4 separate regions of the Homo sapiens genome follow, and all the other regions are linked to region 1. Evidence: promoter capture Hi-C in 16 types of primary human blood cells and fetal thymus (Javierre and others, 2016). All regions are on one chromosome and are shown on one strand. Each heading gives the region's core, a stretch centred on a gene start or on the middle of the fragment in contact. The rest is flanking DNA. Distances are from core to core; before and after follow the strand shown.

Region 1 (7,186 bases), core at 1,690-4,189:
AAGTGGACTGAGATCTAGTCTGTGCTCTTGGCAAACTCTCCATTCCGCATTTCCCTCTTCTGCTGCCTGACATCTGCTATTTTGAAACCTAGGAAGGTCAGGAAGATACAGCAGGAGTGACTGACCTAGAGAATGTGCAGTTGGAAACTAGGCTTTGGTAGCTTTCACTTTTTATCTCCTTTAGAAACACGGATGAAAGTTCTGCCATCAGTGAGGGATAAATAGTAGCCCAGGGCCTTGAAAAAGCAGTTTTAGATCCCTGGGACAATTTCTACTATTTTACTATGTCTGAAGATTAGGGAGGTTATTTTTGTAATTTGAGGCCAACACCCATCTCTTGAGCCTTATATGAAGCACTGAAGAATGTTAATAGATTTGGCTAGCATTTGGGTCAATTATTTCAAATGGCTATCTGGGAGTCATAAAACAGATGGTCCTGAAATTGTACTGCGTTGGTGGATGTAGATTGGCAGCCATCTTTTAAGGGCAAAATTATGTTAAAAGCTAAGCCAGAACAAATGAGCAACAACTGATTTATAATATTTTGCAATGTTATGAAAAATGGTTCCTTAAAACAGATTCACAGGACTGATGGTGATGTTCCATTGTGTTTCTTTGTGAAAATGTGATATTAAACACACCAGTAAATGAATCTGAGGCCCTCCGTCCTTCCCCTCCTCCCTCCCTCCCTTCCTTCCTTCCACAGATCTAGTCTTCGCTCCTTCCTTCCTTCCTTCCTTCCTTCCTTCCTTCCTTCCTTCCTTCCTTTCCTTCCTCCCTCCCTCCCTCTTTCCTTATAGTTATTTTGGGAGTATGGATGTATTTAGTTTGGGTCTTTGGTTTTAATTAGAGTATTTATTAAATAACAAGGAATCTGCTTTGAGTTAGTGTAAAAGCAAATCATGAACTATAGATTACCTTTGAAATTACTGTAACATGGTCAATATTTTTGTTGTTTTTGTAGTTGGGACAAGATAAATTTTAAAATAAAATTGTCAACATTTAAAGAAAATTGTCAACATATAGCTACTCTTTGTGAAACTGACCTACTATAAGATGAAACTTTTTTTATCATTTGCTGTAAAAGGAAGATTTGTTATTTATTGGAAAATTTTATAGGTCTAAGAGCTCTTATATTAAATTATATATATATATATATATATATATATACTCACACATACATATGTGTATATATATTTAGATGCAGGATCTCACTGTGTTGCTCAGGCTGGAGTGCAGTGGTGTGATCAGAGGTCACTGCAGCCTTTAACTCCTGGGCTCAAGTGATTCTCAAGCCTCGGCCTCCTGAATAGCTGGGACTACAGGTGCATGTCAGTATACCTAGCTAATATTTTTTATTTTTGTAGATACAGGGTCTCTCTATGTTGCCCAGGATAGTCTCAAACTCCTGGCTTCAAGCAGTCTTCCCACCTGGGCCTCCCAAAGTGCTGGGATTATGCATGTGAGCCACCATGCCGGCCAGCTATAGAATTTTAAAGCTGTAATAACCTAACATGTGGGGTACCCCCCACAGATGAAGAATCAGAGAGATTAAATAACTTCTCAAGGAGACTCAATTATTAGTGGCACAGAAAAACGTAAACCCTAGTTTGCTGACTTTGTCTAGTATCACTTAGGTTTCTAATACACAAACTTTCATTGACAGGATTTAAACTTGCAAGTGACTTACAAGTTTTGACTGCCTAGTCCTCATATGCTTAGGTTATGCTTTAGGTTTCTAGTTCTGTGGGACTGAGTTAAATAATGGTTTCCCCATGTTCATGGATAGGAATTTTAAAAATTGAGATATAATCCACATACAATGGTATCTATTTTTACTCATTCATTTTGAAATCTAAAGTTTAACTTCTATTCATAATATCCATTTTACTTAGGCAGTGAGTATATAATAACCCTCACCTCAGAAAAGTTTCTACAGTTAAAAGACACGGGCTGAGGAGAGTTCATCTTCATCCTTACTAGCATTTTGGAGTACGTATAAAGGCGTCTGCGGATGCCTAATGATTAAAAAAAAAGTTCCCCTCACCATGGTGAATAGGGTTTTTACGAGAAAAATATGGAGAAAGCAGAGATTATTACCATTGAAAAAGACAAGGTGTTAACAGAAATGGGAGGGTAGCTTGATAGAGTCCAAACTTGACTGAACTCTCTAGGTTAGGGCCAAAGGCAAGTACTGAGGACAGGCATGGACTGTTGCGTTCAACTTGTCAAAAAAGTGGCCAATATGTAGTATGGACCAAGCCTATAGAGGCGCTGAGAATACAGAGATGAATGAGCCAGTTCCTGAAGGAGCCCAGTCTGCGTGTGTTTGCGAGTTGAGAAGAGGAGGAGGGAGGCAGCATGGGGAGTGTGGGGATGGAGGAATTAGATTGAAAGAGAAGGCCGAAAAACTGAATATATAGTAGAAATTTGGGGTGCAGATATGTGCTGCCTAGAAAGGCAGAAACCTGTCCCAGAACCTCTTAATACATTAGTCTCATTTGCCAAATTTGGCCAGATATCATGACTGTGGTCCTCTCGAGATGCCCTCTTGAATCGGCTTAAAAATTATCCTTCCGCAACCACCCCTAGCTTTCCCCACCGCCAGTGCGCCGGGCAGGTTGAAAACTGCACCCACGTTTGCAGCCTCTGCTCTCCGCAGGAGACAGGAATCCAGGGCTTTGCCGTCGTCATAGCAACCAGAAGTTCCGCGGTCCCCTACCCTCCCGCGACTTTTTCCACTTCCTCCGCCTGCAGGGCCCAGCCGCCGCTTCTCTCGCGAGACTTGTGCGCCGCGCTAAGCCGCTCCGTGGTGATCTCACCCGAGACTTGGGGGAGAGGGAGGAGTGAAGGAGGGGAAGGAATGGGGCGGGAGGCGGGGCGGGGAGGGGAAGGGCGAGTGAGGCGCCGCCACTGCCGGCAACTTTGTGAGCGAGTTCAGTGCGTGCGTGAGCGAGTGAGCGAAAAGTCAGTGCAGCGCCGAGTCCCCGGCTGGAGGGTCCCCGGGGAGGGCCAGGTCTGGGCCCCAGAGGCCGCCCCCGCAGCCACTCCATTCCCTCCCGCCTCTGTGGCTCCCTCCCCATTTCCTCCCCCACCGGTCGTTGGGGCCTTCCCGCCCCCGTCCGCACTTACCTGTCCCCTCCCCCATGCGGTACGCACCTCCTCATCCCCCCCCCGGCAACCTCGCGCCCACCTTGGACCTTCGGAGCCCGGACCCCCGCACTTGCTTCCCGTACTGGCCGCCCCCTCAGTTCTTTCTGCTGGCGGGCGGGATGGGGGCGCTGAGCCTCGGGGACGGCGCGAGCGGGGGCCCGGGCGCCTAGACAATAGTTGATGCCCAAGGACGGGGCCACCTCCGCCTTCCCCTCCTCCGGGAGCTCGGCCCCCGCCGGCCCCCCGCCAGCCTGTATTCCGGGTCCCCCTCGGAGCCAGCCTCGGGAATTGGGCTGATTCCACCCCCGCCTCCCTCGGGCCCCCCTCCGCTCCGCGCTCGGCGCCCGCCTCGGGCCGGCCTCGCCGCTCTCCGCAGAGGAGGCGGCGAGTGAGCGCGCGCCGGCCGTCTACACGGTTTCTCTTTCTCCCCAGGGAGAGCGCGCGGCGGACGCGCCCGGGACGCGCGGCGGCACCGGGAGGCCGGGCCGAGCGGTAAGTGGTCCCCGCGCCCGGGTCCTGGGGGGAGCGGGGGTGCAGGACGGCTGACAGCCCCCTGCCCTGTTTCTGGCCGGGGTTGGGGTCCAGGGCCCGGAGCAGGACCCCAGGAGGCCGGTTAAAGTTTGATTTTCGATTTGGTGGCTTGCTGGTAGCTTAGCCCGGCGGGGGCGAGTCCGGCTTCACCGCGCCCGGCGCGCGCGCACGCACCCCAGAACCCGAATCTGCACAACTACTGGGCAGGCGTCTCTGCGGGAGGCCAGGAGACCCGCGTCCCGGTCCGGGCGGTTGCGTCCACCCCGCTGAGCTGGTCGCCACCTGGCGACCCTTCCCCTCCAGTCACCTGGGTGAGCGCTTTGCAGCCTGAGCTGGAGTAGGCAGGCCGAGTTGGTTGAGTTGTGGGAAATGGAGACGAACAGCTCGGTGCCCGAGGGTGGTTAATTTCCCCTTTGGGGGTCTTGGGGACATGAAATTTTGGGATGCTCTAACCTGCTTTCCGGGGAGCGAGTAAACCGCGAAAGGGCTGGGAAGGCGTGAGGGTGCCGCAAAAAGAACTTTTCCTCCTTCGCCCCATCTGTTACCAGCTTCTCTCCTGACCTTAAAGGAAATTTCCGAGGCTCTTAAATCGCTCCACGGCATTTCTAGGTGGACCAGTAATCGTGTTGGGCAGGTTGAAATTTCATCGCGGTTTGGAGAACAGAGAGACATGGGAAATGGCTCACTTCCAAGGAAGATGTTTAGCTAAATTGTTGGCATTCGTTTTCTAAGAGAAGCATTTGGGGATTGATGGCTCCTAGACTACGATTACCTTATAGATTTTATTTTTCCTGACGGGTAGTTTAGAGGCAGCATTCGCTGAAATGCATACTACCTGTGAAACGATCATGTTTCTAAACTGGAGCCAGCGATGTGATGCAAATTTCAGAATAAAGGTGTCGACTTTCATCAGGTTCCAGGTCTATCTGGATGGACTGGGATTGGCGTTTCCTCTATAAAGCAAACCTTTCATGTTGAAACTCTGAGTCAGACTCTTAAAGCCATTGTCTTTATGCTGGTACTCTGTGGGAGTTAAGTGTCAACTTTCTCCTGTTTTCTCCTATGGAGTATCCGTCCAAGGCAAAGATTCTCTGACTGAATCTTTTGGAAACGTGCAAGGTTAGATCATACTGAATTCTGCAGCCAGTTTAGTAATAATATTAGTTTTCTATATAATCCTGATTTAACGACTGTCATTTTTCTCTTCGTTTTTTGAAAGCTGCAATTAAGCTACCTTTACCAGGATTTAAAAAAGAGGATAATATGGAACAGTGGTAATAACAGTAGGTCTCAGCTAATTTATTATGGCCACCGATGTGTCCAACTATTAGATGACATCCCAGTTATTAACTACAATATTAATATTAAAACATTTTTCCCATGGAATCAATTATGCTAAAGCATTAACAATTAACAGTGCATTTAAAATGATGAGTGATTGTTTCCACATAAATGGTTAGAGGCAAAATAAGAGATTTGGGGGATGAATGGCTTTATGTCTCTGACAACTAATTTTCTTATTAATGCTTAAGTAAAGGACTCTTGAAGTTGACTGTCATTTGATTTTTCTAGTTGACTGAGTGAACAAGTTTGGTGAGTGGCTTGAGACAGTCAGTAGGTGTTGCTGTTGTTAGCTTCTCTGCAGTTCCTGCTTCTGCTCCTCGAGTTTGAAATTGCAATTCTGGTACAGTGAACTTTTAAAATCTGAAGTATCAGTCAGTGATAGTTGTGATTTCATTGGAGGAGTCTATGGCAAGGTTGACTTCAACTCCAGGTAATAATTGCAAAGCACCTCTCTGATACTTTGTACTGAGATTCATTTAACTCTTCTTTTGTCTCTGTCCTTACACTAGTATTTTCAGGCTTCTGCATTTGCTTTGCTTTTGCTTTGAAGTATGTGTGTAATTTTGGTATAGTGCCCCCATCTTCATTGTTTAGGAACTTTTAAAAAACACTTTCTAGTGAGTTTATTGAAGTCATAGATTGAAGATTGCTTGAGATTAGCAGTTTTGTAGACTTCGGGGGGATCTTGGTTGAGTTGTGATGTATATATGTTCTATCTTAAGTTGCAATCTGAATTTTTAGATAAATGACTGTTTTTCTTTTTTTAAAAATCTGTTTGAGCTGTGAAATGGGAGCATGAGGAGAGCTGAAATGGTATGAGAGTGGAATTTGATGGAAAGTTTGTCATGATTAATAATGTGACTATGTGCCTCTTATCAGTCCTTACCGTTGTATTATCATTGTTATTGGTCCGTATCAGTGCACAAATGAAGTATGAATATCCTGAAGATTTTTTGTTGACATCTCAGATTTGAGCCTTTTGGTTCACTGACCATATTAGATTTTCTCTATGGAAGACAAATAGACTCATTCCCATAATAAAGAACTAGAGCGCTGATAGAGCACACTTTTTTTTTTCCCCTTTGGATCAAATCATGGAAGTTCAAATCTGAAAATAAATTCAGAAATTTCTTTTTTTCCCCATAGCATCCCTATATTCCTAACCTTTTGAGTGGTGAGTCAAGCAATATTTATTGAATGCTGCTATCTGGCAGGTGCACTTTTGGTTTCTGTGATTACAGTGATGAGCAAGAGTGTACCTGGCCACATGGAACTTGTAGTCCAGTGGGACCATTTGTAGTAATATTTTCTGGCATGGAGTTATGGTACCCTGATGCCCTCGTAAAGGTTATACATAATAGGCAATTATTTTTGAATTTTAATATATTTTAACATTTTGAAATAATGTAACCTAGAATTTGTCCTCAGAAGGTCTGGGTTTCAAATACCTGCCCTGCCATTTTCGTTGTGAGATATTGAAAAATAATTGAACTTCTTTCTGAACTTTACTGTTGTTTCCTGCGGAGATGGGCTCAAGACTTGCTTCACAGATGAGCTACAAAAATTGATGAGAATACATGTATGAAAGTACTTTGTAAACTATAAAGTCTTATTTGTAATAGGGTTTTCTTACTTTTTGTTGGACAGATTCATGGATTGTTGGAACTAGGAGGGATTTTGACTCATTTGGCTCATGTTTCCCATTTTACGTATGAGGAAACTGAAGCCCAGAAAGTTGAAGTGATTTGTTGAAGGTTATAGAACTGGTTAATGACTAGGCAGTGATTGGAAGACAGGTGTCCATATTTAATTGCACTCGTTTCTTTTCTTTTTTTCCTACCTTAGAGCCTGTTATGTTAAAATTTTACTACTTTCTCCCCCCACTTAAGAGTTCAGTATTTATTAAATATCCAAAATGAGGAGATGCAAAACTTAAGGAAACGAACGATCTGTGGTGAGGTTGTAAAGCTATGAAAACAACATTGGTAACCGAGCTTCATAATTAAATGACAAAGTTACAGAAAAAGAAAATATGAGTTAAAGTTTCTACATAGTAGAGCCTGTAGGCTTTTTTGTTTTGTTTCATTTTTAAAGAAATCTTTATTTGCACAGAGCATAATGTACTCTTTAGCTCTTTAGAAAAGCTAAACTCAGTTTA
Region 2 (7,186 bases), core at 1,817-4,316, 300 kb after region 1:
TGTCTGAGACCTAGAAGGTACATTCTTTGAACCAGGGGCTATCTAATTGTAAGTGAAACAGGCTGTTAGAGCTCTTTAGGAATCTAAATATACACAATGTATGAGTTTTTTATTTTAAAATGAAGTTTGGGCTAAAAAAAAAAGACATGGAAAAATAAAAAGAACCCACACAGCATTTTTTTTTTAAAACACCTATGAACAAGTTTGGGACTATGAGGTTCTCCTTTTTCTTTGTAAACTTGTATAATTGGGCCACTTATCGATTTATTGCCTCTCAGTTGCTAATTCACTTTAGGATTTTTGTTATGCATTAATACTTAATACCCTTGAGTCATCTAGAAAATAATGGTTTTGAAACTAGTTTAAATAGGGCATTTGGCTTCATTTCCCCCATTGAATGCAAAGCAAGTTTCCGGGGTTGGCATCATTTAGTAATAGTTCCTAAGCCTGAACTCCGGGGAAATTAAATATAGGACTTTTAAAGACAAGACTTAAATATCTAATGTGTTGTCTACACTGGCCAGAGAGAAATGAACTAACATACTCTCATGTGCTTTTTCTCCATGGCAAAGCTAATCATTAAGTGGTGTAAATTATTTTTTTGAGCACAAAGGCACGAAGAACGTCATGTTCTGTGTTTTGGACTTGTATGCAGGTAGTTGCTCCTCTCTAGCTTCCCAGATCCTAACAGTTTAGTTTGTTTGTTTGTTTGTTTTTGAGACAGAGTTTCACTCGTTACCCAGGCTAGAGTGCAATGGCGCGATCTTGGCTCACCGCAACCTTTGTCTCCTGGGTTCAAGTGATTCTCCTGCCTCAGCCTCCCGAGTAGCTGGGATTACAGGCATGCGCCACCATGCCCAGCTAATTTTGTATTTTTAGTAGAGACGAGGTTTCTCCATGTTGGTCTGGCTGGTCTCGAACTCCCGACCTCAGGTGATCCACCCGCCTCGGCCTCCCAAAGTGCTGGGATTACAGGCGTGAGCCACCACACCTGGCCGTTCCTACCAGTTTTTAGTGATACTCTCTTATCTTACTTCCAAGTATTTTTGTCTTTCGCATTCTCTTCTTTTTCCCTTCCCAAGGCCACTCTGATTTAAATACCCATCATATTCTTCCTTTTCTGTGTTGTTTTTTTGTCCACCTAAATTCATTTCCTTATCACTTGTTCATCCTATCCTTCATGCCAGAGGTTAAAGTTTCCTATGATTCTTTCTGAGTCAGATCCTGTCACTGGTTTCCATGAGCTTCCCTTCTCAGCAGATCCTGTCACTGGTTTCCACGAGCTTCCCTTCTCAGCATGTCTTGCAGGCTCTCCACATCTGATCCCAGCCCCTGTCTCCTACCTATCTGTCCTAAATTCTGCTCTGGTCTGTGAACCACACCAACTCTTACCTTTCCCACCTCTTTTCTTTCTGCTTTACTCCCTTGACCCGAAATGTTCTACTTGAATTCTGTAGTCATAAGATTCTCTTCTTCTCCAGCTAAGCCATTTGAATAAGCTGTGTCCCTTGGGTCTGTTTCCTTAGCCTTTGACTGAAAGGTTCAAGTCAAGTGTTCAAAAAAACCATTACCACTTGTTTTTTACGTTCAAATTAATGTTCACTTTATGACAACTCTATTACTGTATTTTCTCAGGCCAGAAACCATTAAAGCCACACTTTATTCCCATCTTCTCCCTCCTGCCCCTGAGATCTGGTCTGTCAGCAACACTTGTTCATTTTGTCTTCACAATATGCCCAGAGCTCAACTACTTCTCCCACCCTCACTACCCAGTCCTGGTCCTGGTCTTGCTCTGAGAACTGTTCTCCCTGCTTCTATGCTGAAGCCCTGCCTCCTTTTGACCCAACAGGGTTCCTTTGAAATGTCATTCCAGATCTTGCCATTGCTCAGTTCGAAATCCTTGAAAGCTTCCTCATCTCCCTCTGAGAAACAGCCACTGTCTTTGCTAGCCTAGGAGACCATGCTCTTCTGTTTCCCGGTTATCTCTCTGCGCCTCATCCCTGATAACTCCTCCTGGCTCAGTCTTTTCCTGCCACACTGGCCTCCTTCCTACCTGGGCCACCTCAGGACACCTCTGCCTCAGGGCTCAGATGCCCGTCATTCCTCCCCACTGCTGTGTTCTGCATCAGGCTGCCTCATCTCCATTTGGCCTTTACTCAGAAACCACAGAGGCCTTCCTTGACCGCTGAATCTAAAATTTCTATTCCCCTCCCATTTCATATCCAATTCAGTGCTTTATTTTTCATTAATACTTAACACTGTCTTCTCTGTTATACTTAGTCATTTTGTTTGCTTTTAATCTCTCCCACTAGAATGCAGGCCCCAGGAGGGTGGGGGCTTCTGTCCGAGTTGTTCAGTACAACGTGCCCGATTCCTCAAATGGTGCCTTGCCTCCCTGTTTCTCACTTCCCCTCCTTGCCTGTCTCCTTCCATCCCTTTCTCCATGTCTTTCCTCCTTTTCCTCTCTTCCTTTCTTCCTTCCTCCCGCTAATATTTATGTAATTAATTGCCACTAGGTTTTGTATAATTTTTTTCTCTCTAATAATAAATAATCCATAAATTTGATTTAATGGTAATATTGTATTAAGACTTTTGATAGAAATGTTTCCAGATATTGGTTCCTGTCTGTAGCTCCTGCACTTTGAGAGATAGTTCCTTCACTTTTTTCACTGAAGCCCATTTACCTATTACAAATGAAACAAGACTTAATTTGTATCAGGGACTTCTCATGTTACTAATTTCTCATGCAGATAAGAAAAAAGAAAACATGACAGTGACACTCTAGTGGCTTCAGTAAGCGGCAGCAAGATAACAGAAATACAAACAAATCTCTTTCATTTTAGTATAAATAAACATTGCAAAACATAAAAGAAGATATATACCTTTGTAGGCATGGCAGTTTGTTTATGAGCAAAATTTTATGGCATGTGAGTGTTTTTAAGCATAGGAACACGAGGACTTATGAGGACTCCATTCTTATTTCTGGAAGTCATTAAGAAAAATATCAGTAATACTAGTGATTCGGATGTAAAAAATGAGCCATTCTTTTTCTCATCTGCTTTGGCTTTCATGAGTTAGCTGCTTTCTATGGCTCAGGATGCAATGGCTTGAATTTGGTCTTGGCTTCTAAGTTGAGAACACCCCTAGCCTTTGTGGCTCCCTATTTCAAGCTATGTATTATCTCATGAAGAAAACAGTCAAATAACTGAGTTAACGATTTTCCATGATTTAAAAACAAAATAAAAACTATTTGTGTCAAATTATACATTAATAGGAAAATGATTTTTACTTGTTATTTGAAAAGAAATTGTTTATAATGAAAGAAAAAAGGTACTCATTCTAACTACATTCTCTGCCTCCAGTTGCTTCCTCTCACAGTTCATCTTATTTGCAGCTTAATTTCTGAGTATACATCGTCCCCCTACGAACACGTCCTGTGCTGACCTGTAGGAGCCCAGTGAGGCGTGTACCACTCAGTCAGCTTCAGGGTCTTCTGTGCACCCCCAGCTCACAGCTGCCTCATCCATTTCTCCCTGTACTCTCCTTGTGTCCATCTACAATAATCACTCCTTCCCACTTACTCCCTTTTTTCCCAATCTCCATACCTTTGCTCATGTTGTCTCTTGACATTTTCTTTTTGTAGAAATTGTTCCTCTATTTCATGGCCATTTCCTAAAACCCCTCCTTTCAGTGGGGCCTTTCTTTATGCCCTGAGCCACTGTGGTCCATTCTCTGCCTTTGGACTGTCTGAGGTCCTGACCTTGTTATACTTTGTTGGGTATACTTGTCCTTCTGAGATTGCAGTGTGTCTTTCTGACCTCTCACCCTCATATTTGACAATCCTCAACTTGCACTCCTAGCTTTTGTAGCTCCTGTTGCTAAATGGAAATGTATTCAGTTTGATGGGTTTTCTCTTCTTTCCCCATGCAGCAGTTAAATTAGGTTAACAAAACTTTGCCTTGTAGACATTTTTGGAAATTAAGACTACTTTAGGCTTCATGTCTGGTTAACTTTTCTCTGAAAACAACATCATTACGTAGGAAAATGTCTTTGCTTAAGGTATTAATGGAGGGTATTTTAAGAAGGGAAGGTATTTTAAGAAATAAGAGAAAATCTAAAGTAATTTCAGCTGCTATTGCCTGTGCTGCTGTACTGATGGTGATAATTGTCCGGTGGCAGCAGCATTTGGTAATATGAATAGTTTATGCTTGTCAGCCATGCCTTATGAAGCTTAAAACTTTATCTCCCCCTTTTTATAATTCAAAGAAGTATAACATCCAAATTCTAAGTATTTATTCTTCAGACATTGCTCTGGGGTTCTGCCTTCTTAATTTCCTAATTAGTATGCATAGTGACATGGTATAGCCATATAGAGACCTTGATCTTTACTGATCTCTTTAAGGAAATGTTATTTTTTGTCTTTAAATAAATATCCTCAGAAGTCTTGATTATGTGCTCCTTTGGACCCACCCTGGTCTTGAAAGCATTGGTTTCATTTTTCATATTACAGTATCCTACATCACTTTTCTCATTCTTTCTCCCTCACTGGCTTTACCCATCAAAAATCATTCCCTAGCTCTGTGAGGAGCCCCACAGTTCAGGCCTGCAGTGCATGTACATGTGTTCAGGCATCTCACATCCCAGAAGCCTCACCACAGCACCTGTCTCTCTTGCAGCTCATGACACTGAGAGGTTCGGTCCTGGAGGACGCCATTCCGTCGACAGCCAAGCACTCGACAGCCAGAGGCCTGCCTCTCAAAGAAGTGCTGGAGCACGTGGTTCCTGAGCTCAATGTCCAGTGCCTGCGGTTGGCCTTCAACACACCCAAGGTCACAGAGCAGCTCATGAAACTGGATGAACAAGGGGTGAGTTTGCCTTTCTGAGGAGAGCATTCTTGCTCAGGTTTATTGCTAGGCTTCCGGAATACAGACCTTAATGTTTCTTGTTTTGATGGAGATAATTGATACTTTTTATTGTGAAAGACACTCTCTTTGCAATTACTCATTTTGTTTTTTCTTAACTCTGAACTCTGAACATTTCTCATCTGATGAAATTCTGCATGTCAGAATTTATAAATAAGGCACTTTAAACTACGTTAAATTCTTTTGATAATCTTCCATATGTACGGTAAGTTTTTCGAGTGTCCAAGAATAAATAATAGCAGTAATCATAATAATGTTGTGTTAATGACAATACAGTAATAACAGTAATTAATAATAATGAGCATATTTGCAAGCCCCTTTTCTAAGTGCCTTAAATATGTTATCTCATTTAATCTCCCTACACTGTGAGAAAGGTACTATTATTATTCACATTTTAGAGAGAAGGATTCTGGGACACAGAGAGATTAAGTAATAAATCCAATTTCACACAGTTAGTAAGTTTTGGAACCAGGGTGCAAACATAGTCTGCCTCAAAGTCTGTGCCACTTCACCGCGCTGTTCTTAAAAGCTTAGAGTTTCAAAGTCTATTAGTACCACCAAAGATATATTCTAGCCAAGATTTTTAAATATAAAAATGTAAAATTTCACATTCTGCTTAGAGTAATTTGAGCATATGGGCCAATTTTATAGATAATATATTTATATACTCTTACTTTAATTCTTTCTTTTAGCATTTTAGCCATATTGCATCCTAGTAGTGGGTGGTAGTAGTTTTAACATTACATTTAAAAATTACTCCAAAAATAAAATTGGTTCAGGTAGTTTATTTATTTTTTTTCCCCATTATGTTCATTTTTCACAGAAGGGTCCAGCTATTGAATGTCATTTTGTGACCAGATTTGGATAGGATTTCCTTAATCAAAAATTCAAATTTTATTAAAATGAATGAGAGTCCAAAAAATCAGTTTTAAGGTATATTTATTGTTTTAATTCAGCCACTGAGAATATATAATGAAGCAATAGTTAGATGTCTCTTTTCTCTCTTCTCTTTTTTTTTTTTTTTCTGGAGACAGTTTCACTCTGTCACCCAGGCGGAGTGCAGTGGCGCAATCTCAGCTCACTGCAACCTCTGCCTCCCAGGTTCAAGCGATTCTGTTGCCTCAGCCTCTCGAGTAGCTGGGATTACAGGCATGCGCCACTGCGCCTGGCCAGGTGTCTCTTTTCTAATCTTTGCCTTTTTCTATCCATTTCACTTTTCATAATGCACAGCTAATATCTATTTGACACATACATCTGAAGAATGCTGTGAGTATCCATGTTCATAATGTGAAAATTTGTTGCCCTTTGAATTCTTCAAAAGACTACTGACATATAAACGTAACTATTTTGGAGGCTGTTTTCCAGTAATATTCTGAACATTTATTCTAACAAAGGAGTAGAAAAATGATGTTTAGGTCCAACTTTATTGATTCGGTCATTTCTACTACTGTGTTTATCAAGGAGAATAAAAACATTTAGACATTGATAATATAGTCATATACTTAACATTTGAAATTTCTATTAAAACAGATTATTTTATGTAAAGGAGATAGTTATTGCCATTTTCTTTTGTTTTAACTATATTAAATAAAAATGGATACTCTACTTGTAGACATTATGGGGATTTCTGACACATTTTATGTCCTCTGTTAGTGATGCCAAGTGCTGGATCACAGACGGTGCTGATCTGTGATAAATATTTTATAGTCCTATCCACATGGGAAAGATAAGAACACTATAAAGAGTTGAACTCAAAGTTTATTTAATTCACAAAACTGGCCATTATTTTGAAATTATGGCCTTCCTATTCTTGGAAGCATTAAAATGTCCCTTCCTTCATAAATTATTAATCATAATATATGATAGTTGTTTTCTTTAATATCTTTACTAGGCAAAATTAAAATTTGGCAATCAGTCAGTCTCTTCAATTTTACTTTGAAAGTAAGTGCCTTAAATATGTCATCCCGTTCAACAGGAGTATTACTATTAGACAGTAGTTTTTTACTAGACAGTGGAATCTAGAGGTTCAAAGCATGCTATTCTATATGAACAGCTCCATGTCTGGACTAAAGAGCACCGGGGGTTAGCCTCTGTCTTTTTTTTATCTCCATACATACAGCATTCAAAGCCTGGATTGTACTGAGATAAAGCAGACGACATGCATACTTAGGCTTTTAGTCTTGGGAGTAATTTTTTTGGTAGGAAATCTCATTAATGCCTTGGAATTATTTTGAGAAACTGATTATTTTGGTGCCTTTACAAAT
Region 3 (7,186 bases), core at 3,103-5,602, 280 kb after region 1:
AAAGAATGACATTGATATTTTGAATGAGGATTTGCACTGAATCTGTAAAATGTTGTCATTTTAATGATAATAATTCTTCCAATCAATGGGCATGGGACATGTTTGTGTATTCTTCAATTTCGTTCAACAGTGTTTCGTAGTTTTCCTTATAGAGATCTTTTACAACTTTGGTTTAATTTATTCCTAGGTATTTTTCTTTTCTTGTTTTTTGTTTTTGTTTTTGTTTCTGTTGTAGATGGGATTGCCTTCTTGATTTCTTTCTCAACTAATTCGTTATTGGTGTAAAGGAACACTACTGAATTTTATGTTGATGTTGATTTTGTATAATGCAACTTTATTGAATTTAATGATCCAGATCTAAGATTTTTTTGGTGCAGACTTAAGTTTTTTCTAGATATAAGATTATATCATCAGCATAGAGGGACGGTTTGACTTCATCTTTTCCGATTTAGATGCCTTTTCTTTCTTTCTTTTACCTGATTGCTCTGGCTTGAACTTCCAATACTGTATTGGAGTGGTGAAAGTAGACATCCTTGTCTTGTTCCAATTCTTAGAGGAAAGGATTTCAGCTTTTCCCCATTCATTGTGATGTTAGCTGTGGGTTGGTCATATATGCCCTTTATGATGTTGAGGTCTGTTTCTTCTATGCCTAGTTTGTTGAGAGTTTTTATCATGAAGGGATGCAAAATTTTACCAAACAATTTTATGTGTATTGGGATGGTCATATGGTTTTTGTCCTCCATTCAGTTGATGTGATATGTCATACTTATTGAGTTGCATATTTTGAACCATCTTTGCATCTCTGAGATAAATCCCACTTGGTTATGGTGTATTATTTCTTTGGTGTGTTGTTGGATTCAGTTTGTTCATATTTTGTTGAACATTTTTGCATGTATGTTCATGTGGAATACTGACCTGCAGTTTTCTTTTTTTGTTGTGTCCTTATCTGGTTTTGGTATCAGGGTAATGCTGACCTCATAGAATGAGTTAGGTAGAATTCCATCTTCTTCAGTTTTTTGGAATACTTTGAGGAGAATTTGTATTCTTTATAAGTTTGATAGAATTCAACAGCAAAGCCATTGGGTTCTAGACTCTTCTTTATTGGGAGACTTTTTATTACTGCATGATCTTATAACTTGTTATTGTTTTCTTCAGATTTTCTACGTCTTCTGGATTTGATCTTGATAGGTTGTATGTGTCCAGGAACTCATCCATTTCCTGTACGTTTTTTAGTTTGTTAGTGCCTCTGATCTTTTGTATTTTTGTAGTTATCAGTTGTGATGTCTTTTTTTTCATTTCTGATTTTATTTTGGTCTTCTCCCTTTTTTTTTCTTGGTTATCCTACCAAGTGGTTTATTGATTGTATTTGTCTTTTCAAAAAAAACAACTTTTTATTTTGTAGATTTTTTTCTATTGTGTTTTTAGTCTCTATTTTGTTTAATTCTTCTGTGATCTGTTATTTCTTTCCTTCTACTAATTTTGGATTTGGTTTGTTCTTACTCTTCTAGTTTCTTGAGGTACACCATTAGATTGCTTATTTGAAATCTTTATTTTTGATGTGTTGCTCATTGTTATAAAATTATCACTTAACACTGTTTTTGCCATATCCCATCGGTTTTGTACATTGTTTTTTGGTTTTCATTTGCTTCAAGAAATTTCTTCATTTTCTTTTTAGTTTCTTCTTTGACCCAGTGGTCATTCAGGAGCATATTGTTTAATTTCTATTTATTTTTACAGTTTATAGAGTTTCTCTTATTATTGGTTTCTAGTTTTATTTCATTGTGGTCTCAGGAGATACTTGATATTATTTCAAGTTTTAAAGTTTTGTTGAGACTTATTTGGGTCCTAACATACAGTCTATCTTGGAGAATGTTCTATGTGCTGATGAAAAGAATGTGTATGCTGCAGCTACTGAATGAAATATATTCTGTAAATGTCTGTTATATCCATTTGGTCTAATGTGTAGCTTAAATTCAGTGTTTCTTTATTGATTTTCTGTCTGGATGATCTGTCTAAGGATGAGAGTAGGGTATTGAAGTCTCTAACTCAGGAGTCCCCAACCACTGGTCTGTGGCCTGTTAGGAACCAGGCTGCGCAGCAGGAGGTGAGCAGCAGGTGAGCCAGCATTATCACCTAAGCTCTGCCTCTAGTCAGAACAGCGTCGGCATTAAATTCTCATAGGAGCGCAAATGAACCCTACTGTGAACTGCACATGCGAGGGATCTAGGTTGTGCCCTCCTTATTAGAATCTAATGCCTGTCCCCTGTCCCCACCATCCATGGAAAAATTGTCTTCCATGAAACCTGTTCCTGGTGCCAAAAAGGTTGGGGACCACTGCTCTAACTATAATAGTATTGGAGTCTTTCTCTTTAAATCTAATAATGTTTTGTTTATGTATCTGGGTGCTCTGGTGGTGAGTGCAGATATGTTTAGAATTGTTACATCTTTTTGCTGAGTTGATCTATCTTATATAATGGCCTTCATTGTCTCTTACTTTGTTTGACTTAAAGTCTGTTTTATCTAAGTCTACCTATTCCTGCTCACTTTTGGTTTCCATTTCCATGGAATACCTTTTTTATCCTATTACTGTAGTTTGTATGTTTCTTCAGAGGTAAGATGAGTTTCTTGTGGATATTATATAGTTGGATCATATATATATTTTTTTTCAAATCAGCCGATCTATATCTTTTCTGTGGAAAATGTAATCTATTTACATTCAAGGTTATTATTTATAGGGGGGACATATTTCTGTCACTTTATTAATTGATTTCTAGTTATTTTATATATCGGTTTCTTTCTCATGTTATTTACCACTGTGATTTGGTGGTTTTCTTTTTTTTTCTTTCTTTTGAGACAGATGCTTACTCTGTTATTTAGGCCAGAGTACAGTGGTGTGATCATGGCCTACTGCAGCCTTGAACTCCCAGGCTTTAAGTGATCCTCCCACCTCAGCCTCCTGAATATCTAGGACTACAGGCATGTGCCACCATGCCTTACTAATTAAAAAGAAATATAGCCGGGCATAGTGGCCCACGCCTGTAATCCCAGCACTTTGGGAGGCCGAGGCGGGTGGATCACGAGGTCAGGAGTTCGAGACCAGCCTGGCCAAGATGGTGAGACCCCATCTCTGCTAAAAATACAAAAAAATCAGCCAGGCACGTGCGTGTAATCCCAGCTACTCAGGAGGCTGAGGCAGGAGAATCACTTGAACCTGGGAGGTGGAGGTTGCGGTGAGCCGAGATTGCACCACTGCACTCTAGCCTGGGCAACAGAGCAAGAGCAAGATATATATAAATATATATATATTTATATATCTATATATATTTATATATATTTATATATAGATATATTTATATATATTTATATATATATAAATTTTTTTTTTTTTGAGACAAAGTTTTGCTCTCTCAACCAGACTAGAGTGTAGAGGCCTGATCTCAGCTAACTGCAACCTCTTGCCTCCCAGGCTCAAGTGATCCTCCTGCCTCAGCCCCCTGAGTAGCTGGGACTATGGGCACATGCCACCACGCCTGGCTCACTTTTATATTTTTTTATAGAGATGAGGTTTCACCATGTTGCCCTGGCTGGTCTTGAACTCCTGAGCTCAAGCCATCTGCTCCAGCCTCCCACAGTGCTAGAACAATATAGGTTTGAGCAACTGCACCTGGCCTTAGCTAATTTTTTTAAAAATTTGTTTCTAGGGATGAAGTCTCACTATGTTGCCCAAGCTGGTCTCAAACTACTAGGTTCAAGCATTCTTTCTGCCTCAACCTCCCAGAGTGCTGGGATTACAGGTGGGAGCCACTGCACCTGGCCAAGTTTGGTGGATTTCTGGAGTGGTAACATTTTTGTGTGTTTTCATGTTGGTAGTAGTTATCATTCTTTCACTTCCAGGGCTAGGACTCACTTAAGCATTTTTTTTTAGCACTGAATTTAACACTAAAAAAAGATGAGTTATCTCAGCTTTTGCTTGTCTTGGAAAGACTCTTTTTCCTTCATTTATGAAGGATAACTGCTGAGTATAGTAGCCTTGGCTGACAGGTTTATTTATTTATTTTTTTTCTTTTTTTTCCCCAGCACTTCTAATATATCTTCCCATTCTCTACTGGCTTATAAGTTTTCTGCTTAGAATCCACTGTTAGTCTGATGGGGGTCCCTTTATAAGTGACTACACACTTTTCTCTTGCTATTTTTGTCTTTGGCTTTTGATGGTTTGACCAAAATGTGCTGTGGAGAAGACCCTTTTTTATTGTTTCTGTTTGGGGATCTGTAAGCTTCCTGTATCTGGATATCTAAATCTCTTGCTAGACTTGGAATGTTTTTATCTTATTATTTCATTAAATATATTTTCTAACCCTTTGATTTTCTTTTCACCTTCTGGGACTCTGAAAATTTGAATATTTGATTGCTTTATAATGTCTCATGTCACATAAGCTTTGCATTTTTTTATTCTTTTTTTGCAATTTTTGACTGACTATGTTATTTCAAAAGATCTGTCGTCAAGTACTGAGGTTCTTTTTTTTCTGCTTAATCTAGTCTATTGTTGTTGCTTTCAAATGTATTTTGTATTTCATTCAATGAATTCCTCACTTCTAATATTTCTGTTTGTTTCTTTTTATAATTTCTATCTCTTTGGTAAATTTCTCATTCATATTCTGATATATTTGTGTTGTTTTTCAGTATTTGGTTGTATTTCACTGAGCTTCATTAATCAACATTTTGAATTCTTTTTCTAGGATTTTGTATATTTCTTTTTGTTTGGGATCTGTTGCTGGAGACTTAATTCTATTCCTTTTAAGATGTCATATTTCTTAGTTTTTTCATGGTTTCTATGTCCTTACATTACTATGTACACATCTGATGTAACAGTTGCTTCTTGAAGTTTTTTGAGTTTACTTTCATGGGGACGGACTTTTTCTGAAAATGTATCTGTAGTGCTGATTGGGTAGGGCATTTTGACTTTGATTCTGGGTGCATGTAGTAGTATAGTCTCTGTATAATGTCTTTGTCTGTAAACAGCATAAGTTGTGTCTGTGATTTCCTCAATAACTTAGGGTACAGTTGTTAATGGAGGCTCTGCTGAACTTTTGCTGGTGCCTAGGAGGTGGGCCAATCGTCGAGTCCAGTGGTAGCAGTGTTGGACTGAGTCTGTGTGTGTCTGGGCCTCAGGGCAGCAAACACCAGCACTTGTGCCAGCAGGTCCTGGCAGGTTAATTCTGGGGCTACAGGTAGCTTGCTTGGATACCAGTAATGTTGGCAGTGGGCTGTACAGTTGTTGGAGTCCTGGGCCCTGGGAAGCAGGCATGATAGGGGTGATAGCAGTAACAGTAGTGGGATGACCCTCTGAGTTCTAAGTGGTGTGCACTGGTGTTGGCCATGGCTATGGTGGGCCGAGAAAGCTTGACCTCTGCCTCCTTGATGGCACATGAAACACTGGCTATGGTGGGCAGGGGCTGAGTTATCCCCAGACCCCTGGAAGATTGCTCAGGTGGGGATGGCAGTGGCTGCTCTGTGGCTGTGCTCCTGGGGGTGGCGGGATTGCTTTCAGTAGCAGCAGCCACATGCAGACGGGTGGAAAACATGCCCTTCCCTTGTGCTTCAGCCGCGGTGATGGCAGCCCACAACAAAGGCACCTGCAGGCCGTGAAGTCTGTCTGGGCATGTGAAAATGGGTGATCTTCCTCTGCTGGAGGAAGGGGGTTTGCTGCCAGGTGGCCCATGCTTCAGCCCTGGTGGTAGCAGTTTGCTGTGGCAGTGGCTGCATATAGGGGATGTTGGTGGGGTTCCAGGAATGTGGAGATGCAAGTGCTGTTGATCCCTAGGGCAGGGTGCAGTCTTTTTGGGACTAGGCTGTCAAAATGGTGTCATTATGCATGCTGTAGCTGCGTAGGACTCAGGAGGGTATGTTGGACCAATTGTGGGCTTCGTCCTGAGCACTGCCCTGGCACGGTTTCCAGGCATCTCCTTATGTTTGTTTCAGGGCCTGCAAGGGTCATGGGGCTCTTCCATAGCTAGGATTACAGGAGTGAGTCCACAATGGAAATGTGGCTCGTGGGGGATCTCTCACTTACCCTGCACTAGGGAGTCTCTCCACGCTCCCAACCGGTCCCAACCAAGCAGGTTCAATTTCCTGGTTTTGACAATGATTATTGTACTGTATGTCGTTATGTAAGATGTTAGCACTGGGGGAGTCTGGGTGAGCAATACGGAAATAACCTGTACTATTTTTGTAACTTTTCTCTGAGTCTAAAAGGAGTCCAGATAAAAAGTTAAAACTTTTTATTTTTTTCAGGCAGAAGAAAAAAATAAAAACAAATAAAAACCTTCATATACAGTCATATACATGCATAAACACAGGAACCATAGAAGATGTGACACCAAAAGATTGGCTAGATGATTGAAGCTTAAATAGCACCTCCTTCATAGTGTAGAGGGAATTGGGGGATGTAGGCAATTGTGAGGGTAGTAAATGATTTTCAGGGGGAATGAATGAGCCCAAAGAATAGATAATGTCCTGGAACAAAGCTTCTCCGAGTTCCAGGGGGAGGTGACAGGAAGGTGAGGGGCAGAACTTCACTATGAACAATGGTGGTTTTAATTTGCAGATAAACTTGCCCAGGTAATTTCCAGGGACTGCCCTCGGCATAATAGATGAAAAGCCTGCATGGTGTGGTGACTATTAGTGTTTTCTCTTTTAACGTTTTTGCAACTGTGTTTCAATATGCTTGGTGTTTTGCTTTGTATTTTTATTCCATGCACTTTAAAACATTACTCTGGCCAGGGGGCAGTGGCTTACTAATACCAATGCTTTTGGAGGCAAGGTGGGAGAACTGCTTGAGCCCAGGAGTTCAAGACCAGCCTGAGCAACATAGTGAGACACCATCACTACAGAAAATTGGCCTGTGATTTCAAGTGGTTAATCTTTCCTGGTTATCTGATGTGATTCCTAGGGAGGGAGTTTTAAGACAGTGCCACTTCTTTTGGTAAGAAGTTTCCTCAGTCAGATAAGGAAATTCCAGAGTCCCTCCCTTTGCTTTCAGGGGAGAAACTAGAGAAGATTTAGAAGGTCCTTGGTTCTGAGACAGCTTCTAAGACTTTTCAGTTTCTTTAATTAAAAAGTGCCCAGCATGCAAAAGCACCATACTTTGGGGTATTGTTATCTGTGCCCCAACACCATCCACATAAAA
Region 4 (7,186 bases), core at 2,575-5,074, 270 kb after region 1:
TTATGATAAAAACACTCATTTACTTCTTCGGTCTCATCTGGTCTCTTGCTATCCTGATGGCAGGCATGGAAACTCTCAATGCCCCCAATAAGTTAGTGAGCTTTTGGTTTGTTTTCCTTTAAAGTGTTATTATAACTTATCACACCTCAAACACTATTTTCCTCTAATAATTCTGTTTCACTTTTACCTTTCTACTTACTACCTTTTACTCCTTTTGCCCTTCCTACTTTAAGCTGTCCCAACTTAGGTCTTTGATATTTTATTATGTGCTTATTGCATGAGATTAGTCATATTTAAATGTAAGAGATAAACATTGACATGTACTTCTGTTCTCCTTCATTTTGCCAGCTGTTGCATCAATTTACTACTTACCAATTATTCCACCATGGGTTGGGTGCACTGGCTTACTCCTGTAATCTCAGCACTTTGGTAGGATCCCTTGAACCCAGGAGTTAAAGATCAGCCTGGGCAACATAGCAATACCCTGTTTCTACAAAAAATTTTAAAAATTAACCAAGCATGGTGAGGCATGCTTGTAGTCCTAGCTACTCAAGAGGCCAAGGTGGGAGGATCACTTGAGCCTGGGAGTTCAAGGCTGCAGTGAGCCATGATCATACAACCAAACACCAGCCTGGGTGACAGAGCAAGACCCTGTCTCAAATAGTAATAATAATAATATTATTATTCCACCACGTAACTTGTTCCCGCATTCTTTATCATTCTTCTGCCCTCAAGCTTTCTGCCAAACTTTTGTGTTCTTTCCTTCACCTTCAGCTATACAAACTATATTCAAGCTTAACAAAACCTTAGAAGCGTAACTTTCTTCACTGAACTTTTTTAGCTACGAGGGTGAGTGGGAGGGAAATGTGATTTTCCTTTTTGATCCTTCCTGTGTCCAAACAGGCACATTTTAAGTTGCTTTCTTATCTCTAAATTCAAATACAGCTTTATCATGTTACATGTTTTGTATCTATAACTTTTCTATTCACTTTGTTAATTTTACCAAAAGTTTTTTTGACTCGACTTTGTTTCCATCAGTGTTGTCTCTTTCAGAGAGTGAACATTAGGAGAGCAGGAACTAGATTTATCAACTGTTTTTCTCAACTCTTCCTGCTTTTTGTTGAAGGGAGAATACAGAAATGAAAGGAGGTAGAAATTCCATTCTAAAAAGTTTTACGCTGATTCATAAATCTTAAATTATCCATGACATTGCACTAAGATGTGTTTCAGGCTAACTTGAAAGAGTGAGCCATCCCTTCTGTCTGAGATGCAACTTTTATGTAATGTGAGTGGAATTCAGGAAAGCCAAGAAGGGATGTAAAGAAAATAGTTTGCCTTATTTGATTATCTTAGCTCATCTAATATTCAAGTACTGTGAAGTTATATTTCTGTTTTTAAATAGTGTTTTATTACATTCTGAAGTAAGAATATTTACAGGCATTCTAAGTCTGTGTTTACAAGTTCAAAAACTATTTCTATTTTTTTGTTGTTTGTTTAAGAGCCTGGGTATTACCATGTTACCTAGGCTGGTCTCAAATTCTTGGGCTCAAGCCATCTGCCTGCCTTGGCCTTCTAAAGTGCTGGGATTACAGGCACAAGGCACTGTGCTGGGCCTGGAAATTTTCATAAATACTTCTGAAGTGTATATCTCTGAATTATTGGGGCATTTGAATAGTTATTCATCAGCACAGTTCCTTCTACTGCCCTGAAACATTGAGAGCTGGCGTTGTATTTTAGGCTGTACCAGTTAAAGAATCTGAGAAGATCTCATTTTGGAATGTGGAAGTATTTTATGAGGAACGCTACATCTTTCTGGTGACCCTACCATATTGCACTGTAATTCTTTCACAACAGGAACTGTAGTGTTCCCCCAACCCCACCCCCTTCCCACATCTTCTTCTTGTAACCTTTAAACTGCTCTTTATGCCCTTGGCACGATGTTGTTTCTTTCATTCTATTCCTTGAATTAGGAATAGAATGTGCTCCCTTCCTTACCACTTAATCATTTCTTGAAAAAAAATTTTTTTCATTATTCTGCTTGTTGGTTATTTCATTGTAAAATAGGTAAATAAAGAAGATGTCAAATGAGCACCTACCTCTATTTTATCTGAAGTTTAGTGGAGAAGATCATGACCAGAGATTTGGAGGTAACAGCATAGAGATGATATTTAAAGCTGCAGGCACCTACAGTATCAACAGACAGAGTACTGGTTGCCATGCAGATTTCCAGCCAGTAACTTAATTATTCTGCCTTTGTTCAGCTGCACAGACAAATGTGAGCCAGCCCAATCAACACTCTGCTTTCCACAGTGATATTATTACTCCAGTGGACCCATGCTTCTGTCTCATCCTAATACACTCAGTGCTCACATGCATCCTGATAGAAATACCTTTTATACCCCTTTCCAGAAATATGAAAAATGTCAAGAGAGATAAACCATAGACACCACCTTTTCAATGGACCCCAACTAAAGACTGAGTAGTGGGCAAAAAGAGGCAAGAGAAAATGAAGAAGCACATGGTTATCACAGAGGTCCAGAAAAGAGAGGTTCAGGATGGAGGATGGGTTCAGGAGTACAGATGCTTCACAGAGCCAGAATGACAAGGGATTTTTGGCAATCAAGAGATCCCATAAGAGGTTCTGCTTTCAGCATTCTCAGGGACTTGATATTCTAAATGGCTGACCTACTGTGGTACAATTAGTCCCAGCAGGAGATTGTAAGCTCTGTTATTAAAGAGCTTACAATCAAAATGGAAAGTGTATAGGAAGGAGGCATGACCCATGCATCCCCCGTCATCTTCTTACTTGTCTGTGTCTCCCTGCTACACCTGGAGCTTTCCTTGAAGGAGGGACTGGTGGATGTATGGTCCATGCTCTGAAGACACTACAGAAACACAGGGGGTGATTTGGATGAGAGGAGGAAGCATTTCTTCTGGAAGAATGGTGGGTTAGGTTGTGAGAGATCTTGAGTGATGAAAAGACTTTCAACTAGTTGAATTGAACTCATTGAACTAAACTGTGGGCCCTCTAGATGGAATTAGTATTCTAGCTACCTGGATCTACCATAGACTTAGATAGTATCTAGAGCTGTAAAATTAAACATGTAATAAGGAAAATTTTTATATAGCCTGCTCTTTCAACAGATGGAGGTGACATGCTGTGAATTCGTATTGCTCTTCTGTTTAATTCTATTGCTTTTTACCATATTGGTACTTAGGCAGGTTTGCTGATATTTAAGAGAGTTGCTGATCATTGTCAACATAGGTTTGCTGTTTCAGTCAACCCTAAGGAATAGATGTGAAGGTATTATTGATCTGTCATCATATGATACACATCGATGGACAGCATTATTTTTGACTGGTAGTTTAATAAGTGCAAAGCATGTATATTTCCATATATGCTAGTCAGTGCCCAAAGTTTATATTGTACCCCAAAGGGGTTTGATGCTATAAATAAGAATGAGAAAAGGGAGGGAGGGAGGGAGGGAGATGGAAAATGAGAGGGAGAAAAAAAAAACATAGAAAAGGAAGGTCCTTATGACTGAAAAAAAATCTGTTATTTAACATAATTGCCCATCTCGAACCTCATCAGTTTTTACAAGCCATTAAAACGTGGCTTCTCTCTCTCCCATGTGCTTATTTATATTTTGAAATGAAAAGAAAACATTGAGTCGTTGTTATATAATGTAATGGGAGTCTTGAAATTTCTTTTGAATTGGTAAGAAATTTTTATATTTAAAAATAAGATTTTATAAACTCATTAAAAATATTGGAAGTATATGAGATGGTTTGGAAGAGAAATACTGATGGTGGAGACTGAGCATTTCCAAGTCAGTTTTATTTCTTGTATTTTACTGCCAGCTTTTAGTTTCCTCCTCTAATGGAAATAACTTCACATATCCTGGGAAAGACAGCTGTGCAGTAAAGTATTTTCTAAGGCACATGAAATGTGGCAAGAGTTTTTATCATGGTGGGATTGGTGTGTTGTCCTTTTAGAGAATGAATGTTTGGGGAATGAAAGATGATTTATTTGGATTTCTGTGAGGTTGTGAGAAATGTTGAAAGCATCTAATTTTTATAAAATCTACTTTAGAAGTATTATTTATGCTATGTAGAGTATTCATTGAAATAATCAGCTTTTGGGGAGATGTTGAACAGGTGTTTGCATTTTGGTTCAGTTGTTCAATTTTCCTTCCATTTTATGAGAATCACTTCTTGAACCTTTGCTATGGCCATATATGCTGTCCTTTGATATCCTCGGAAGCAACAGTTAGCATGTTTTGTCACTTGAAGGGTTATCATTGAAAGAGGAACATGTAAAGTTCTGGAATGTAAAGGGAATAATAGCAGTCTGACAGTAGAAGTATCTAGAAAGCTCAAAAGCCATGTTTAATTAGGTAGCAGTGCAAAACTATTATCCCTTTTACAAAAGATGGTGAAGAGGAGTGCTAGTGAAAACAAATGGCATTTATCTGAATGGCTCCACAGACTCAGCCAGCACGAGCCCAGCCAGAGCTCGCCTCACCCTGCATTCTGCAGGCAGCATGCATTTTTTTTTTTTTTTTTTGAAACACCCCTACATGTTCCAGCCTTTAAATAGCAGCGAGTCTTCTAAAGTGATGCTGTGTGCTGCAAGAGAAATGAAAGCGCCTGCCTTGGAGGCAGGAAGCCGACTAGGGAGATGCTTAATTATCGTGGAAGTAGGTGCTTGTTACCATTGAGTGGAGAGTGCAGCAAGTGCAGGTCGTCCTCCGGTGTCAGAGCCGTGATTTGTAGACAATGCCGCCCTGTCAGCTCAGTGCTGGTTCAGCAGCATCTTTCCAAACATGTATTTGGCAAGAATTTAAAGGCCACCTCTTGTGTAATTTGTGGAGTCTTGGAAAAGGAGCCTCTGCCTTTCTTTTCAGAATGTACGCAACCATGCAGAATTTTGTACTCAGAATCTGTGTCTCCTGCCTTCTGCCTGACGTGCTCATGAGGAAGTTTGTTTCCATGCCCGTCACCTGGAAGGATGCTAACAGTTCTCTGTAATCTGTTGGGGATATGGAGAGGGCCACCCAGAGCTGTGTTTTGTTTCTGCCGTCTTCATAAATTAGCACTGATGGGGTGGAGTAGGTTGTACTGCATGAGGAAATGCAGGCATTTTGTTCATTAGTGAGATACTTCTAGCTTTTAAGAGTACAAGAAACTAAGGAGAGCTTGGGAAGAGGTGGTGGTGAATGCTGGATTCATTCTGCAATATCCTCGTCTCGGTAAGTAATAAAGTAGAGGAAAATACAAAAGAGTGCTAATGGATATAATGGCTCTGGGAAAACTCTTTTTATTTATTTTTTCCTGCTGTATTTGTTTTTGCCAACTATGTTAAGCCTTTGTAAGGAAACAAAAAACATGTATTGATTTTGGAATAGAGGAGTTAAAAAGTGATTGTTGCAGCATATTCAGTAAAGTCATTTTTCAGTTTTTACTTTTGTCAAAAAACTCTGTTGCTCTAATTATCTTATTCACTTGGTTACATCTCAAACTTCTGGTCATCACAGTAGCTCATGATGTTCTACATTTTTAGAGGTCATTGGAGCAAAAGTCTGTACTTTGGGTAGGAGCCATGATATCCAGAACAAGATGTACCCCTCCCCCTGCCCCCCATTTTATGAAACAGTTCAATTAAGATGAAGTCTTAATAGTTTTTTTTTTTAGAATATAAATTATGGATTTTATCAAATGGTTTTTACTTTCTTCCTTTCTTTCAAACCTGCTTTACTAAAAATACGGATTGTGGAACTGTGAATCCTAATCCATTATTGAGTCTTTTATCTTCATGTGTCTGGTTTTGACAATTGCATGTTTGTTTTTAGATGTATTTATCTGCTAATTCAAATTATCCTTTTCTCTTTTAGAGAAAGCATGGGATTATGGCAACCACAGAATCTCAGTAGTACAAGTTCCATTCAGTTTTTTCTGAAAGAAAGCCCTCTGTTAAAGTGAAGCAAAGAAACTGTTGTGGATTATAACGTTTAGAAGTTCCAATTTTTCAGTGCTTTACAAATAAAGCATCATTTAACCTTTTAAATGAAAAAGATTAAGATCTCATGCAACTGTTGTATTTTCTGGAAGCCATTCTCCAAAAGGGAAGTGCACATTTAAAACACAGATATGATGGTCCTTGCTGCAGGGATTTAAGTCTACTTGCTTTTACATCATGACCAGCTTGAAACGGTCACAGACAGAAAGGCCTCTTGCCACTGACAGGGCCTCTGTTGTTGGCACAGACGGCACCCCCAAAGTCCACACTGATGATTTCTACATGCGGCGCTTCCGGTCCCAAAATGGCAGCTTAGGATCATCAGTTATGGCTCCTGTAGGACCCCCCCGAAGTGAAGGTTCTCACCATATAACCTCAACCCCCGGAGTCCCAAAAATGGGGGTAAGGGCAAGGATTGCAGATTGGCCCCCAAGAAAGGAAAACATAAAAGAATCTAGCCGTTCAAGCCAGGAAATAGAAACCTCAAGTTGCCTTGATAGCCTGTCCTCCAAAAGCAGTCCTGTGAGTCAGGGAAGTTCTGTTAGCCTCAATTCCAATGACTCAGCCATGCTGAAAAGCATACAGAACACGCTGAAAAACAAGACAAGACCGTCGGAGAACATGGACTCCAGATTTCTCATGCCTGAAGCCTACCCCAGCTCCCCCAGAAAAGCTCTTCGCAGAATACGCCAGCGAAGCAACAGTGATATCACCATAAGTGAACTTGATGTGGATAGCTTTGATGAATGTATCTCACCTACATACAAGACTGGACCATCACTGCACAGGGAATATGGTAGCACATCTTCAATTGATAAACAGGGAACATCTGGAGAAAGCTTTTTTGATTTGTTAAAGGGCTACAAAGATGACAAATCTGATCGAGGTCCAACTCCAACCAAGCTCAGTGACTTTCTCATTACTGGTGGTGGCAAGGGTTCTGGTTTCTCTTTGGATGTAATAGACGGGCCTATCTCACAGAGAGAGAACCTCAGGCTTTTTAAGGAAAGGGAAAAACCACTCAAGCGACGTTCAAAATCTGAAACTGGAGACTCATCTATTTTTCGTAAATTGCGCAATGCCAAAGGTGAAGAACTTGGGAAGTCATCAGATCTTGAAGATAACCGATCAGAAGACTCTGTCAGGCCCTGGACATGTCCAAAGTGC

The links. The method cuts DNA at HindIII sites, captures the fragments that hold promoters and counts their contacts. A CHiCAGO score of 5 or more calls a contact.
Region 2: a fragment that was not itself captured here is called in contact with the fragment with the promoter of SIPA1L1 in region 1 in 8 of 17 cell types (neutrophils, monocytes, activated CD4 T cells and 5 more); the score reaches 19.0 in neutrophils.
Region 3: a contact is called between a fragment that was not itself captured here and the fragment with the promoter of SIPA1L1 in region 1, in 9 of 17 cell types (total B cells, monocytes, activated CD4 T cells and 6 more). The highest score is 11.4, in total B cells.
Region 4: a contact is called between a fragment that was not itself captured here and the fragment with the promoter of SIPA1L1 in region 1, in 7 of 17 cell types (neutrophils, monocytes, total B cells and 4 more). The highest score is 23.8, in neutrophils.

The regions. Positions count from the first base shown.
Region 1 is chr14:71,317,537-71,324,722 of GRCh38, forward strand. SIPA1L1 (signal induced proliferation associated 1 like 1) reads left to right here and starts at 2,940. Exons shown (of 24, transcript NM_001386936.1): 1 at 2,940-2,967; 2 at 3,586-3,645. SIPA1L1-AS1 (SIPA1L1 antisense RNA 1) reads right to left here and starts at 4,312. Exons shown (of 4, transcript NR_184180.1): 1 at 4,138-4,312. RefSeq lists an enhancer at 2,419-2,578 and a silencer at 2,839-3,858. The HindIII fragment of the contact is 21,627 bases long and covers 1-7,186 here.
Region 2 is chr14:71,619,372-71,626,557 of GRCh38, forward strand. It overlaps SIPA1L1 (signal induced proliferation associated 1 like 1), which reads left to right. Exons shown (of 24, transcript NM_001386936.1): 7 at 4,677-4,865. Among named protein-coding and RNA genes, the nearest start is that of SNORD56B, 220 kb to the left of the region's middle. The HindIII fragment of the contact is 2,323 bases long and covers 1,906-4,228 here.
Region 3 is chr14:71,600,627-71,607,812 of GRCh38, forward strand. All of the region lies in intron 5 of SIPA1L1 (signal induced proliferation associated 1 like 1), which reads left to right. Among named protein-coding and RNA genes, the nearest start is that of SNORD56B, 210 kb to the left of the region's middle. RefSeq lists an enhancer at 4,836-5,593. The HindIII fragment of the contact is 160 bases long and covers 4,273-4,432 here.
Region 4 is chr14:71,581,677-71,588,862 of GRCh38, forward strand. SIPA1L1 (signal induced proliferation associated 1 like 1) reads left to right here. Exons shown (of 24, transcript NM_001386936.1): 5 at 5,895-7,186. The coding sequence starts at 6,197. Among named protein-coding and RNA genes, the nearest start is that of SNORD56B, 190 kb to the left of the region's middle. The HindIII fragment of the contact is 6,064 bases long and covers 793-6,856 here.